2 separate regions of the Homo sapiens genome follow, and region 2 is linked to region 1. The links are contacts of gene promoters, found by promoter capture Hi-C in blood cells and fetal thymus (Javierre and others, 2016). All regions are on one chromosome and are shown on one strand. Each heading gives the region's core, a stretch centred on a gene start or on the middle of the fragment in contact. The rest is flanking DNA. Distances are from core to core; before and after follow the strand shown. Region 1 holds the start of SF3A3 (splicing factor 3a subunit 3). Region 2 overlaps GNL2 (G protein nucleolar 2).

What was found. Contacts are between HindIII fragments. The CHiCAGO score rates a contact against its expected background, and 5 or more counts as called.
Region 2: a contact is called between a fragment that was not itself captured here and the fragment with the promoter of SF3A3 in region 1, in 1 of 17 cell types (M2 macrophages). The highest score is 5.4, in M2 macrophages.

The regions. Positions count from the first base shown.
Region 1 is chr1:37,987,419-37,994,052 of GRCh38, reverse strand. It overlaps SF3A3 (splicing factor 3a subunit 3), which reads left to right and starts at 4,031. Exons shown (of 17, transcript NM_006802.4): 1 at 4,031-4,183; 2 at 4,458-4,505; 3 at 6,217-6,269; 4 at 6,375-6,480. The coding sequence starts at 4,088. It also overlaps the pseudogene RNU6-510P. RefSeq lists enhancers at 2,873-3,418, 3,810-3,979, 4,680-4,779. The HindIII fragment of the contact is 15,870 bases long and covers 1-6,634 here.
Region 2 is chr1:37,566,932-37,573,565 of GRCh38, reverse strand. GNL2 (G protein nucleolar 2) reads left to right here. Exons shown (of 16, transcript NM_013285.3): 13 at 4,264-4,715; 14 at 5,209-5,291; 15 at 5,802-5,893; 16 at 6,559-6,634. Among named protein-coding and RNA genes, the nearest start is that of DNALI1, 13 kb to the right of the region's middle. RefSeq lists an enhancer at 4,152-5,351. The HindIII fragment of the contact is 695 bases long and covers 5,037-5,731 here.

The DNA of each region.
Region 1 (6,634 bases), core at 2,782-5,281:
TGCGCCACCATGCCCAGCTAATTTTGTTGTATTTTTAGTAGAGACAGGGGTTTCACCATGTTGGCCAGGATGGTCTTGATCTCTTGACCTCGTGATCTGCCGCCTCGGCCTCCCAAAGTGCTGGGATTACAGGCGTGAGCCACCATGCCCAGCCTCCGTTTTTTCAAACTTTTTTTTTCTTTTTTGAGACAGGGTGTCACCCAGGCTTGAAGATTATAGCTCACTGTAACCTCAAACCCCTGGGCTCAAGTGATCCTCCCGCCTCAGCCTCCCAGGTAGCTGGGAGTACGGGCAAATGCCAGCAAGCCCAGCTAATTTTCTTATTTTTTGTAGAGATGAGGTCTCGCTATGTTGCCCAGACTGTTCTAGAACTCCTGGCTTTAAGCGAAATTCCCAGCTTGGCCTCCCAAAGTGCTGGGATTACAGGCGTGAGCCACTGCACCCAGCCTGCTTTCAAACTTTTAAAAACAAAAAGTAATGCATGTTTACTGTAGAAAAATTGGGCTGGGTGCGGTGGCTCACGCCTATAATCCCAGCACTTTGGGAGGCCAAGGCAGGAGGATTGCTTGAGCTCAGGAGTTGCAGACAAGCCTGGGCACCACTGTGAGACCTCATCTCTAGTAAAAATTTTTAAAAAATTACAGCGGGTCTGGTGGCTCATGCCTATAATCCCAGCATTTTGGGAGGCCAAGGCAGGAAGATCGCTTGAGTCCAGGAGTTTGAGACCAGCCTGGGCAACACGGCAAAAAACCCCATCTCTACAAAAAATACAAAAATTAGCAGGGTGTAGTGGCGCACATCTATAGTCCCAGCTACTCAGGAGGCTGAAGTGGGAGGATAGCTTTAGCCCAGGAGGTCGAGGCTGCAGTGAGCCAAGATTGTGCCACTGTACTCCAGCTTGGCAAGACCCTGTCTCAAAAAAAAAAGAAAAACCTTGGCTTGGTGTGGTAGCTCATGCCTGTAATTCCAGCATTTTGGGAGGCCAAGGTGGGCGGATCACCCTGAGGGCAGGAGTTCAAGACCAGCCTGGCCAACATAGCAAAACCCCATCTCTGCTAAAAATACAAAAATTAGCTGGGCATGGTGCCACGCACCTGTAATCCCAGCTACTAGGGAGACTGAGGCAGAATTGCTTGAACCCAGGAGGTAGAGGTTGCAGTGAGCCAAGATCGTGCCACTGCACTCCAGCTTGGATGACACAGAAAGACCCTGTCTCAAAAAAAAACAAAAAACAAAAAACCTCGCAGTTTTTTGGTGTGCGGTGGCTCACACCTGTAATCCCAGCATTTTGGGAGGCCAAGGCAGGCAGATCACCCGGAGGTCAGGAGTTCAGGACCAGCCTGGCCAACATAGTGAAAGCCCGTCTCTACTAAAAATACAAAAACTAGCCAGGTGTGGTGGCAGTCACCTGTAATCCCAGCTACTCAGGAGGCTGAGGCAGGAGAATCGCTTGAACACAGGAGGTAGAGGTTGCCGTGAGCTGAGATCGCGCCACTGCACTCCAGCCTGGCGACAGAGCGAGACTCCCAAAACAAAACTTTAAATGTGGCTTTTGTTGCGTGGGAAAAAAATAAAAAATTAACCAGGGTGGTGGCACCCACCTGTGGGGGCCACAGGGGTGGAGGCTGCAGTGAGCCATGATTATGCCACTGCACTCCAGCCTGGGGCAACAGAGAGAGACCCTATCAAAAAAAAAAAGAAAAAGAAAAAAAAGAAAAAAGTGAACAATAGGTAAATTACTAATAATGTGATGCATTATGTCCTCCTCGTTCTTTTTTGTTAAACATAAATGTGCACATATGTATTTTCAGTTTTAAATTAATTTTTAAATTGAAAAAGTATGTTTAAGAATAACTTTTTATGCTGTGCTTGGGGTGTATACAAAGAAAAATCTCCCATATCAGATCTCCAAGGCTGTCTGCTCAGGAACAACCACTGTTTACTGTTACTTGGATATCCTTACAGAAATAATCTCTTTGCACATCTATTTTTATACACACTTGTGCATCTAGCTTTTTTCAGTTTGTGTGGCCATCTCTCCATATGAGTTCATACAGAGTTTTTAACAGTTTTATTGAAGTGTAATTTATATACCATAAAATTCACCCATTTTTAACAGTACAAAGCAATTAATTTTAATAAAATGAATAGAGTTATGCAACTATCACCACAATCCAATTTTAGAACATTTCTACCCATCCAAAATGGATTCCTTGTGCGCATTTGTAATCACTTCCAATCTCACCTGCGGTCACAAGCAACCACTCATATTTCTGCCTCCATAGATTTGCCTTTGTTAACTCAATTGTAGCCTAAAGCTGCCTCCTTACATATTTTAAATTTAGCCTAAAGGTTTCTCTGTACATTGTGAACTATAACCTAAATGGAGTTGTAAACAGACCATAGCCTACTCTTTGCCAATCACCGAGTTTTGGCCAATCAAACATGGCAAACTATGCAAACCGTGTTCAAATAAGGCAAAGACCAAGCTGTAATAACCGGTGTTTTTTTTTTTTTTTCTTTTTGCAGGGGCCATGCTAATCTTCTCTGTATGGTTCCAATTTTAGTATATGTGCTGCCATAGCAAGCACCAGTGTTTTTCTTTTAACACCGTTCTGGACGTTTTATCTGGACATACACTGTTGTTTTTCTGTCTAGCTTCTTTCACTTAGCATGATGCTTTCATGGTTCATCATTGTAGTATTCATTTATTGCAGAATAATGTTCCATTGTACTGTATAGATATACCACACTTTATCCATTTGCCAGTTAATGGACTCTTGGGCTGCATCCAGTTTTTGTCTATTATGAATAATGCCGCTGTGAACATATGAACACATGGACATGTTTGCATTTCTCTACCTACAAGTGGAGATATATAGACAGAATTTTTTTTAAGGCTGTATGTCATTTCACAGCTGGTCTTCCACTGCTTGGATGCACAGTATTTTATTTTATTTTATTTTACTTTTTTTTGAGACGGAGTCTCTCTCTGTCGCCCAAGCTGGAATGCAGTGGCATGATCTCAGCTCACTGCAACCTCTGCCTCCTGGGTTCAAGTGATTCTCCTGCCTCAGCCTCCCGAGTAGCTGTGACTACAGGCGCGCGCCACCATGCCCGGCTAATTTTTTGCAGTTTTAGTAGAGACGGGGTTTCACCGTGTTAGACAGGATGGTCTCAATCTCCTGATCTCGTTGGATGCACAGTATTTTATTTAACATATTCGCTGCCGATAGACAAGTCGTTTCTACACGTGAATTTCTTTTTTTTTTTTTTTTTTGAGACTGAGTCTCATTCTGTCGCCCAGGCTGGAGTGCAGTGGCACGATCTCAGCTGACGGCAACCTCTGCTTCCCGGGTTCAAGCGATTCTCCTGCCTCAGCCTCCGGAGTAGCTGGGACTACAGGCGCCTGCCATCACGCCCGGCTAATTTTTGTTTGTTTGTTTTTAGTAGAGACGGGGTTTCACCATGTTAGCCAGCCTGGTCGTCTCGAACCTCTGACCTCAAGTGATCCGCCCGCCTCGGCCTCCCAAAGTGTTGGGATTACAGGCGTGAGCTACCGCGCCCGGCCTCACATGTGAATTTTTTTAAAAACACCACCAGCAAAACCCCACTATTCCCATTTTCCTGAGAAAGACGCTGAGGTCCAGAGAAAGAGAAAACGTTCTCATAATTTATGCTGAAAGCTGCGTCCTCAAGTTCCGGTTTCCCAACTCCCATCCGCACTCCAACTGCTCGCGCAGTCCACACAGGATACCTGCCCGCCAAGCCGGCCCCAGCAAGCCGCAGGAAGCCGTCCGCTGAACCTCAGGTTCTTGGGTTTTCCTATGCCCCCTGGAGGCATCTGCGAACCTCTCGGCATCGCTCCACCACACCTCCCACCAGCAGGTGGCACTGTTGCCATCTCCATAACATGGACTGGCCTTCCTTGTGGTGCTCCTGTTTTCTTAAGTCCCGGGGCACTTCCGGCACTCGCGGAACTTTGGTGCAGCCTGATGCGCAACGTGGGGACTCAGGCGCGCTGGGCGGCAGGAGTTGCTTCCGGCCGTGTTGGTGGTCTGAATTGAGAAGCCGCGACTAAGGGAAGATGGAGACAATACTGGAGCAGCAGCGGCGCTATCATGAGGAGAAGGAACGGCTCATGGACGTCATGGCTAAAGAGATGCTCACCAAGAAGTCCACGGTGAGTGGGGCCTGAGCAGAGGCTGCGGCAGGAGCACGAGCCTCTATCCCGTGTTTGACCTCTGAGAGCTTGCTTTGGCCCTCAGAACCTCCCTGCCTTCCTCCGGGCTCCCTCTCCGAGCTCCGGTCTTGGTAACCTCCTCCCGGGGTCCGGAGCCCCAGAGGCCTTTCTGCCTCAGCTGGTAAAAGCTGAGCGGGTAAGCTCCGCCCTCGGGCGGCCTTTTCTACTCCAGAACGCAAACTAACGGCGTTTGTGTCACCGTTTGTTTTTTCAGCTCCGGGACCAGATCAATTCTGATCACCGCACTCGGGCCATGCAAGATGTGAGTGCCCAGCTGTCTGCCTCTCTTTGGGTTGGCGAGGGCGGGAAAAGAGAGGGGAAGTGAAGTGCGGTGTCTCAGCATGAGTCCCTGGCCAAAGGTAACCGGATTGGCCAGTCGCGGGCTCTCTGCCTGGACAGATGTCCACAGGCTGCCGAACGTGAGGGTGCTTCCTCAGTTCTCTGAATGGGGAACTCTTGGGCATTCTTCATTAATCAGAAAGGTGCCCTTTTTTTTTTTCTTCTTCTTCTTCTTTTGGACGGAGTCTCGCTCTGTTGCCTAGGCTGGAGTGCAGTGGCGCGGTCTCGGCTCACTGCAACCTCCGCCTCCTGGGTTCAAGCGATTCTCCTGCCTCAGCCTCCGGAGTAGTTGGGACTACAGGCGCTCGCCACCACGCTCAGCTAATTTTTGTATTTTTAGTAGAGACGGAGTTTCTACTAAACATGTTGGTCAGGCTGGTCTCGAACTCCTGACCTCGTGATCCACCTACCTCGGCCTCCCAAAGTGCTGAGATTACAGGCTTGAGCCACCGCGGCCGGCTTACACGTGCCCATTCTTACAGCATCCTGTATCCCTTGGATGTGCAAACAATAGTTATGAAGAGTCCATGACTCAGGTGCATAGCTACAATCCTTCCCTTAAATGAAAAAAAAAATATATATATATATATACACACACACACACACACACACAACACACCCCGTATGTTAGTGTTTTTCTCCCAGGATACTACTTTAAAGCGTTTTGGACTACTAAACTGCATTTGTCTGGTAATAGTTCAGTTTATTAAAAGAAAAACAAGATGCTATTTAAACTGGGTGATGAATAAATGGAGGTTCATTTTACTACGTTCCTTACTCTTGTGTATGTTTGAAACCTGTTTAAAAAGGAATAAAAGACCTACTTGGACCTTCTGATTTGCAGGAGATTATCAGATTACAAGCCCTCAGCCCCAAAATACTCTGAAAACCAAGGATTTTCTTTTTTTCCCCTTGGGTGATTATTTGGTGTCAAAATCTGACCTGATCTCACTTGACAGTAAAACCTGGCCCGAACCTGTGATAGGCTTTTTATGGTCTTTAATTTATCCCACTTGGTAAATAAGGTATGAGGTTTACTGCAGAACTGTGTGCTCCAGATTCCACTAGGGATGTTACATAATATATGATACCTCTTTTGAACTTAAACATTCCAAATTCTGAAACAAATCTGGTCCCAAAAGTTTTGGAGGAGGGACTATGTACCTGTACCATCCTGAATTAGTATACTTTGACTACAAAGGAAGCCTATGTAATGTTTATTTAGCCTGCCTACTCCTCAGTCAAGCGTTTTGAAATAGTGAATATCATCTTTATCTTTGAGGATGTTAGGTGGGAACTAGTGTTTGGCCAAAGAGGGTGAGTCTGTTACAGGGGAAGTTAGGCATCGGTGGTATGTAAAGATAGGAGCCACCCCTTAAATGTATCATTTAGGTAATCTTCCAATCGACCTGCTTAAAAAACTAAACAGGAATCAAGGCTGTTAAAGGGCTATTAAAAAACTAACCAGGAATCAGGGCTGTTAAAGGTACTAGGAAGCACAGAACTGTTAAGACTATCTCATATCCATGTCTCTTGAGGTTGCCCTGGGCTTTGACTGGAGAACCCTTGTTGTTTGCTTAGCTCTACAGTTGTGCAAATTGCATCATTCTGATGGTTTTGTATTTGCCTTTCAGAGGTATATGGAGGTCAGTGGGAACCTGAGGGATTTGTATGATGATAAGGATGGGTAAGTGACAGTCACAGCTAATCCAGGAGTTAGTGCTTCTGAGGAGCCATGGTTAGAGGACTGACTTTGTGCTCTATCTTCTTTGAAATTTTCCTGAAATTGCAGATTACGAAAGGAGGAGCTCAATGCCATTTCAGGACCCAATGAGTTTGCTGAATTCTATAATAGACTCAAGCAAATAAAGGAATTCCACCGGAAGCACCCAAATGAGGTATGTCCTCAGAAAAGTATTTTCTCCAGACCTATCCTTAAAGCATACTAAAGGAAAGGTATAAAGGAAACTGGACATGTGCTATTCAAATGCACTTCAAGAAAGAACTTGCCATTTAGCTGCAAGGACCATAGTTAGCTGACATCCTACAATA
Region 2 (6,634 bases), core at 4,135-6,634, 420 kb after region 1:
TGGCCCTCAAAAAACCTGTGATCCAGTGGGAAAGGAGAGTGGTACTACTGATAGTCGGAGAAAGAAGACTGAAGGCTGGGGCCAGAAGCTCTCCTACTATCCCCATTTCCCTCACCCTGGCAGTGGGCCGCCACAAGGCTCAACGTTAACGTTTTGCCTTTCTGGTTCTAGGACCTTTTTCAGAACCCAGCCAAGTCTCTTGAAATGGTGGCTTCAAATTGTGCATCTATGCTTGCTAGTGTCGTTGGGTCCATACAGTGCTGGTTTCCTCTCACCTGACCCCATTCCAAGTTGCAGTTGCAGCTAGGTATTTTCAGTTGAATGTATTCTGCAGCATTTGAAAGTTAGCCTGAAACTGATGTTAATTGACATTCTCCCTTCTCCCTGCCCAAACCATCAAACAACCAAACAAAAATTTCTCTCCCTCTTCATGTGTATTGCATCTTTCATTCATTAATTCACTGATACATTCACCCAGCAATCCCATATTGAGTGTCTCCTGTTGGCCACAGACTCTTCTGGGTACTGGTGGTGCTGTGGTGAGAAACTGACAAGCTGCTGCTCTCCTGCACATATATTCCAGCAGGGGAGTGTGTGGTTTCTTCTGACACCAAATACATAATTTTTTTCCATATCAGTTCTGCAGTTCTCAGATACCAGCTGAGTGTCCCAACAATTTAATTCAGTTGTGACACTAACTCCCGGAGTTAGCACAGACCCCACAAGTTAAGGACTAGGTCCCCTGCTTCAGATGGCAGCTTCAGGCTATCCACACTTACGCCCGGCTAACTACAAATTCAGGGGTTCTGGGGTTTGATAATTTGCCAGAAGGACTCCCAGAACCCAGGAAAGTGCTGTGTTTACAATTAACGGTTTATGATAAAGGATGAAACTCAGTCACAGCCAGTGGAAGAGGTGCACAGGGTAAGGTATGGGGGAGAGGCACAGAGCTTCCATGCCCTCTCCACACATTGATGTGTTCAGCAACCCAGAGCTTTCCAAACCCCATCATGTAGGGGTTTTTATGGAGGTTTCATTACATAGACATGACTGATGAAATCTGTGGCAGTTGGTGATAGACTCAATTTCTGGTCTCCCTTCTCTCCTCTGAGTGGCTGAAAGCACCAACCATGTGGTCAAGTGCTTTGTCTTTCTGGTGACCAGCGCATCCCCCATCCTGAAGCTATCTAGGGGTCTACCATGAGTCACCACATTAGCATAAACTCAGGTGTGGTGGAAAGGGGCTTGTAATCAATAAAAAAGATACCCATCGCTTGGGAAATTCCAAGGGTCTTAGGAGCTCTGTGCCAGGAAGTGTGACATTTATATCACAGGGAGACAGTAGGCAGATAAACATATAATGTCAGGAAGTCTTGCGTGCTGTGAGGAAAACTAAACCAGGCTAAGGGGTTTGGGGGAGATGAGGAGTACTTTGGGGTGGTCGGGGAAGGCCTCTGAGGCAGTGGCACTTCAGCAGAGCCCTTAATATGAGACAGGAGCCATGCTAGTATCTAGGGAGAATGTTCCAGGCAAGGGGAACAGCACATCCAGAGCAGCTGGGGCAGGAGTATGCTCTGTGTGTCCTGATGCTGAAAGGAGGTCACTGTGGCTGGAATGTCGTGGGCCAGGAGAGGGTGTCATGGTGGGAAGCCATTGGAGGTTTTGAGTTAGCAGCTGGATTCTAGGGTCATTCTGGATGTCCGTATCACTGCTGTCTTGGGACCCTGTGTGGAAACACTGGCATTGTCTTCAGCCCTTCCTCCGTATGTAGTCAGTAAGTGTAGATAAGTAGTTCAGATAATTCTTAAGAACTATTGTAACCATAATAGATTTGTTGCCCAATGCACACAGCAAGTCAATATGCTGAGACACCACCAGGTTGCAGCAGAGAAAGAAGTTTAACCGTAGGGTCACCAAAGGAGGAGATGGGAGGAATCCTGAAATCATTTCCACGAGGAGTTTGGGGTTAGGGTTTTAAGGGTTTTGGAGTGGGCTGGAGTGAGGGTCATTGGTTGGGTGAAGAGTGCAGGGTGAAGTCACGGACAGGGAGATGAAGAAGCTGTGTTCTCATGCAGATCCCGTTTCTCTGGGGATCTTCAAACTGGTTGCTGGAATTAGGGATCTGAAAAGACATTTTAAGCAATCCTTAAACAAAAACCTTATGATTCTAATGTCAGAGATCTTGCCTATAGGAACAATGGGGGTGCATATCAATTCTTACATAGTCTTATGACCCAAATGTCAGAAATCCTATCTATAGGGACAGTGGGGATGCAAATGGTCAGTACCTAGTGTTCAGGAACTTTTAGCAACAAGGATATGGGCCAAAGTGCCCCCTAATTAGTGCTTAATTATAATTGTATTTCTGTCCAGAACTTGGCAGATACTTCTTGTCAACCCTTTGGAGGCAGTTTCACTCTCATATGCCTTACTCTGTGATTCTGTTTTTCTTTTTTGGTTAAGAGCAGAAACCCCTTCAGAAACTGAAAGCCAAAAATTGCCCTTCCTAGAAAAATGTATGTATAAATTTTGTGTGTGGTTTCCTGAATTTTATAGTTCTGTACTTATTTAGTGATTTGCCCGGCCACTCTTGACTTTAGAACATCACTTTTAAGTTCTCTGAGTTTTTGTTGCAAGGATAAAATGATATTATACATGTGAAACACCAGTAGAAAGCTTGGCACATACTTATCTTTGCGGTTACCTAAAACAGGCCAGTCATTTCAGGGTCCCCAGACTTAGTTCTCTAATGAACTCTCTTCAATCACAGAATTCCCCCTCCTTACCTTATACTCTTGCTTCAGGATGCCTCCTATCTTAGTCTGTTTTGTGATGATGCAACAGAATACTACAGATTGGGTAATTATAATGAACAGAAATTGTTTTGGCTCATGTTTCTGGAGGCTGGGAAGTCCAGTATCAAGGCACCAGCATCTGACAAGGGTCATCCCATCGTGGAAAGTGGGAGGACAAGAGCAAGCAAGAGAGGGTCAAACTTGCTTTTATAACAAACTCACTCTTTTTTTTTTTTTTTTTGAGACGGAGTCTTGCTCTGTTGCCCAGGCTGGAGTGCAGTGGCACGATCTCGGCTCATTGCAACCTCTGCTTCCTGGGTTCAAGTGATTCTCCTGCCTCAGCCTCCTGAGTAGCTGGGACTACAGGCATATGCCACCAGGCCCAGCTAATTTTTGTATTTTTAGTAGAGATGGGGTTTCACCATGTTGGCCAAGCTGGTCTTGAACTCCTGACCTTGTGATCTGCCCACCTTGGCCTCCCAAAGTGCTGGGATTACAGACGTGAGCCACCACATCCGGCCAACAGACTCACTCTTAAAAACGAACCCATCCCCGAGATCCATTAGTCCATTCATGGGGATGGAGCCCTCATGATCTAATTACCTCTTATTAGGCCTTACCTACCAACACTTGCTGCATTGGGGATTAAGTTTCTGTATCAGTCCATTTTCATACTGCTATGAAGAAATACATGAGACTGGTTAGTTTATAAAGAAAAAGAGGTTTAATGGACTCACAGTTCCACATGGCTGGGGAGGTTTCACAATCATGGCGGAAGGTGAAGGAGGAACAAAGGCATGTCTTACATGGCATCAGGCAAGAGTGTGTGTCCAGGGAAACTGCCCTTTATAAAACCATCAGCTCTCGTGAGACTTAATTCATCATAGGAGCGGCATGGGAAAGACCTGCCCCCATAATTCAATTACCTCCCACCCGGTCCTTCCCACAACACATGGGGATTATGGGAGCTACAAATCAAGATGAGATTTGGACACAGCCAAACCATACCAGTTTCCAACATATGAATTTTGGGGGACACATTTAAATCAGAGGACCTCCTCAAATGCCTCTCTTAGTACTGTTCTCATCTGTAACATCCAGCCTGGCCTTCATTTTTATGTAGTTGTGTGTGCTGATTTTGCATGTGCTTATATCAGCAGCCCCCTAGGGAAGGTCTAGGGAGCCTTGCTTTTCTATGATAAATCATTGGTTGGTTTTAATGGTTTAAATAGTCTTAGTTGGTTCATCCTGTGGAACTACACATGTATTCCTTTGATCCTAGTACTGATCTCTGGGCTTAATGTACATTGGTTTAAAAATACATTAATGAAATGACTCAAATTTGGGTGTTTTCAATACCTTCCCTTAGTCCTGAGAAGAGGACTGTTTAAGAGCAAGATATGAGTTCAGAAATTCCATTTTTCATTTTCTGATTCTATTTATTTCCCCCATTTCCACCCCTTAATAGCTTCTACCCTCCTCATCTTTGGAAGTTGTCCCAGAAGCAGCCCAGAACAATCCAGGGGAGGAAGTCACAGAAACTGCAGGTGAAGGGTCAGAATCCATCATTAAGGAAGAAACAGAAGAGAACAGTCACTGTGATGCTAACACAGAGATGCAGCAGATTCTCACACGAGTTCGGCAGAACTTTGGTAAAATCAACGTGGTGCCTCAGTTTTCTGGGGATGACCTGGTTCCTGTGGAGGTGTCAGATCTTGAGGAAGAGCTTGAGAGCTTTTCTGATGAAGAGGAGGAGGAACAGGAGCAACAAAGAGATGATGCGGAAGAGTCTTCCTCGGAGCCTGAGGAGGAAAATGTGGGAAACGACACCAAAGCCGTTATTAAAGCACTGGATGAGAAGATTGCCAAATATCAGAAGTTTCTAGACAAAGCCAAAGCCAAAAAGTTTTCAGCAGTCAGGTAATATTTTCATCTTCTCACAAATTGCAGATTTTCATTCCTTTCCCAAAAATTTGCCATGAGTACCAGAGCCATATTTTTACATGGGGTTATTGCCATTTGTTTGTTCGGTTGGGTTTTTTGTTTGTTTGTTTTTTGAGACGGCGTCTCGCTATGTTGCCTAGACTGGCCTCACTCTCCTGGGTTCAAGCAATGCTGTCATCTCAGCCTCCTAAGTAGCTGTGACTACAGGTGTGCACCACCACACTTGGCTGTTATTGCCATTTTTAAAAAGTGAACTGTAAATTTTGTAAAATTCAGCTGCCTGCAGTATGAGAAGCTTTAGAAACACCCAGGGAGGTACAAACATGTTGGATGTTGACTTCTTCCACTGGTGATAACTACTTGGATAGGAGTGGGGTTTCTTTAGTCTGTGAGTTTGTCGCAGGTCTCCAGGTCAGTATGTGATTCGGGCGAGTGAGAGGAGGAATGTTACTTTGCTTTTCTGTTTCAGAATATCCAAGGGACTGAGTGAAAAGATATTTGCAAAACCTGAAGAACAAAGAAAAACACTGGAAGAAGATGTAGATGACAGAGGTGAAGTTAAATTATTTCAATCATTTAGATGTAATTTGCATATTTAGAGTTTTGAGAAACCTAAGTTCAGTCTCCAAATTATCTCAGTCATCCACATAAATGTTTGTCATATCTGGCAGATTACTTTAAATTTACATAGTGTTATGCAAATTGAATTATCTGCTTTTCATTCTGCACATTTTTTAGGATTAAATTGGCAATTCAGGAAACTTCCTAGAAAGGGTTCATTATTAACCTAGAATCCAAGGGTGGGTCCACAGACAAAGAGGGGGGTGTGTTTCCTGCATTTATCCATTCCTCCATTTGACCATCAGCTTTCACACTGAGAGCATGGCTTAGGGCATCCTTTTACCTGGCAGCCTCCCCTTGGCCTGCTTTACTCACCACTGTGCTCACCTGCTCTGTCCACATTGGGTGTCCTCCTCCTGATACATCAAGCTTGTTCCCACCGTTGGGTTTATAGACAAATTTTCAATAGAAAATTCCTGTTTGTGTATTGTTTGTATCCAGCACCTTCCAAAAAGGGAAAGAAGCGGAAGGCACAAAGGGAAGAGGAACAGGAACATTCAAATAAAGCTCCCAGGGCGCTTACATCAAAAGAAGTAAGTGTCATAGGTTTTAAGTATGGCCCAAGTAGAGTAACTAGAACTCCAGTTGTCAAGACCCACTGAAACAAATGGTCCAGAGCTGAATCCCAAGAACCCCAGTCCTCGTTGACCTAGTTGAGGTCAGATAAATAGGGTCGGGTCTGGCCCACTAGATGCAGGTCCTTGAGTCCATGTCATACGTTTTAGGAGTTTCTAATCAACGTCTCCACACGAGTGGACTATCCTCTAGAGGAGTCAGTTTCTAGTCCCAAGGGAAACGACCCAATGAGCAGATCTGCTTTGGGCAGATCACTGACTTCTGTGAAGGACAGCTTTGGAGCTGAGCTGTTCAGAGCTAGAGTGGGCCCTCTGGGGAGGGGAGTGGTTAGCAGCACTCAGCCTTGCTGCAGGGGACTTGTCAGGAGTGATGCAGAACAGATTCTTGCACTGGCTAAGGGTTGGATCACATGTGGATTTGTAACTTGGAGTTGCATAAGTCACAATGGAAGAGTAACCTTAGGTCTACGGGGGAGCCCTCCCTCATTAGCACTGCTTCCAGTAGCTGTGGAAGCAGCACGGGAAATAGAACACAGAGATGAGAAGCAGAGACTCCTGTTTTGTGAATGACTTTCAGGGTTTTGTTGTTTTTTTTCTTCATCTTTTCTTGCCATTTTTTACAGCGGAGGCGAGCAGTACGACAGCAACGGCCGAAAAAAGTTGGTGTGCGCTACTATGAAACACACAACGTGAAAAATA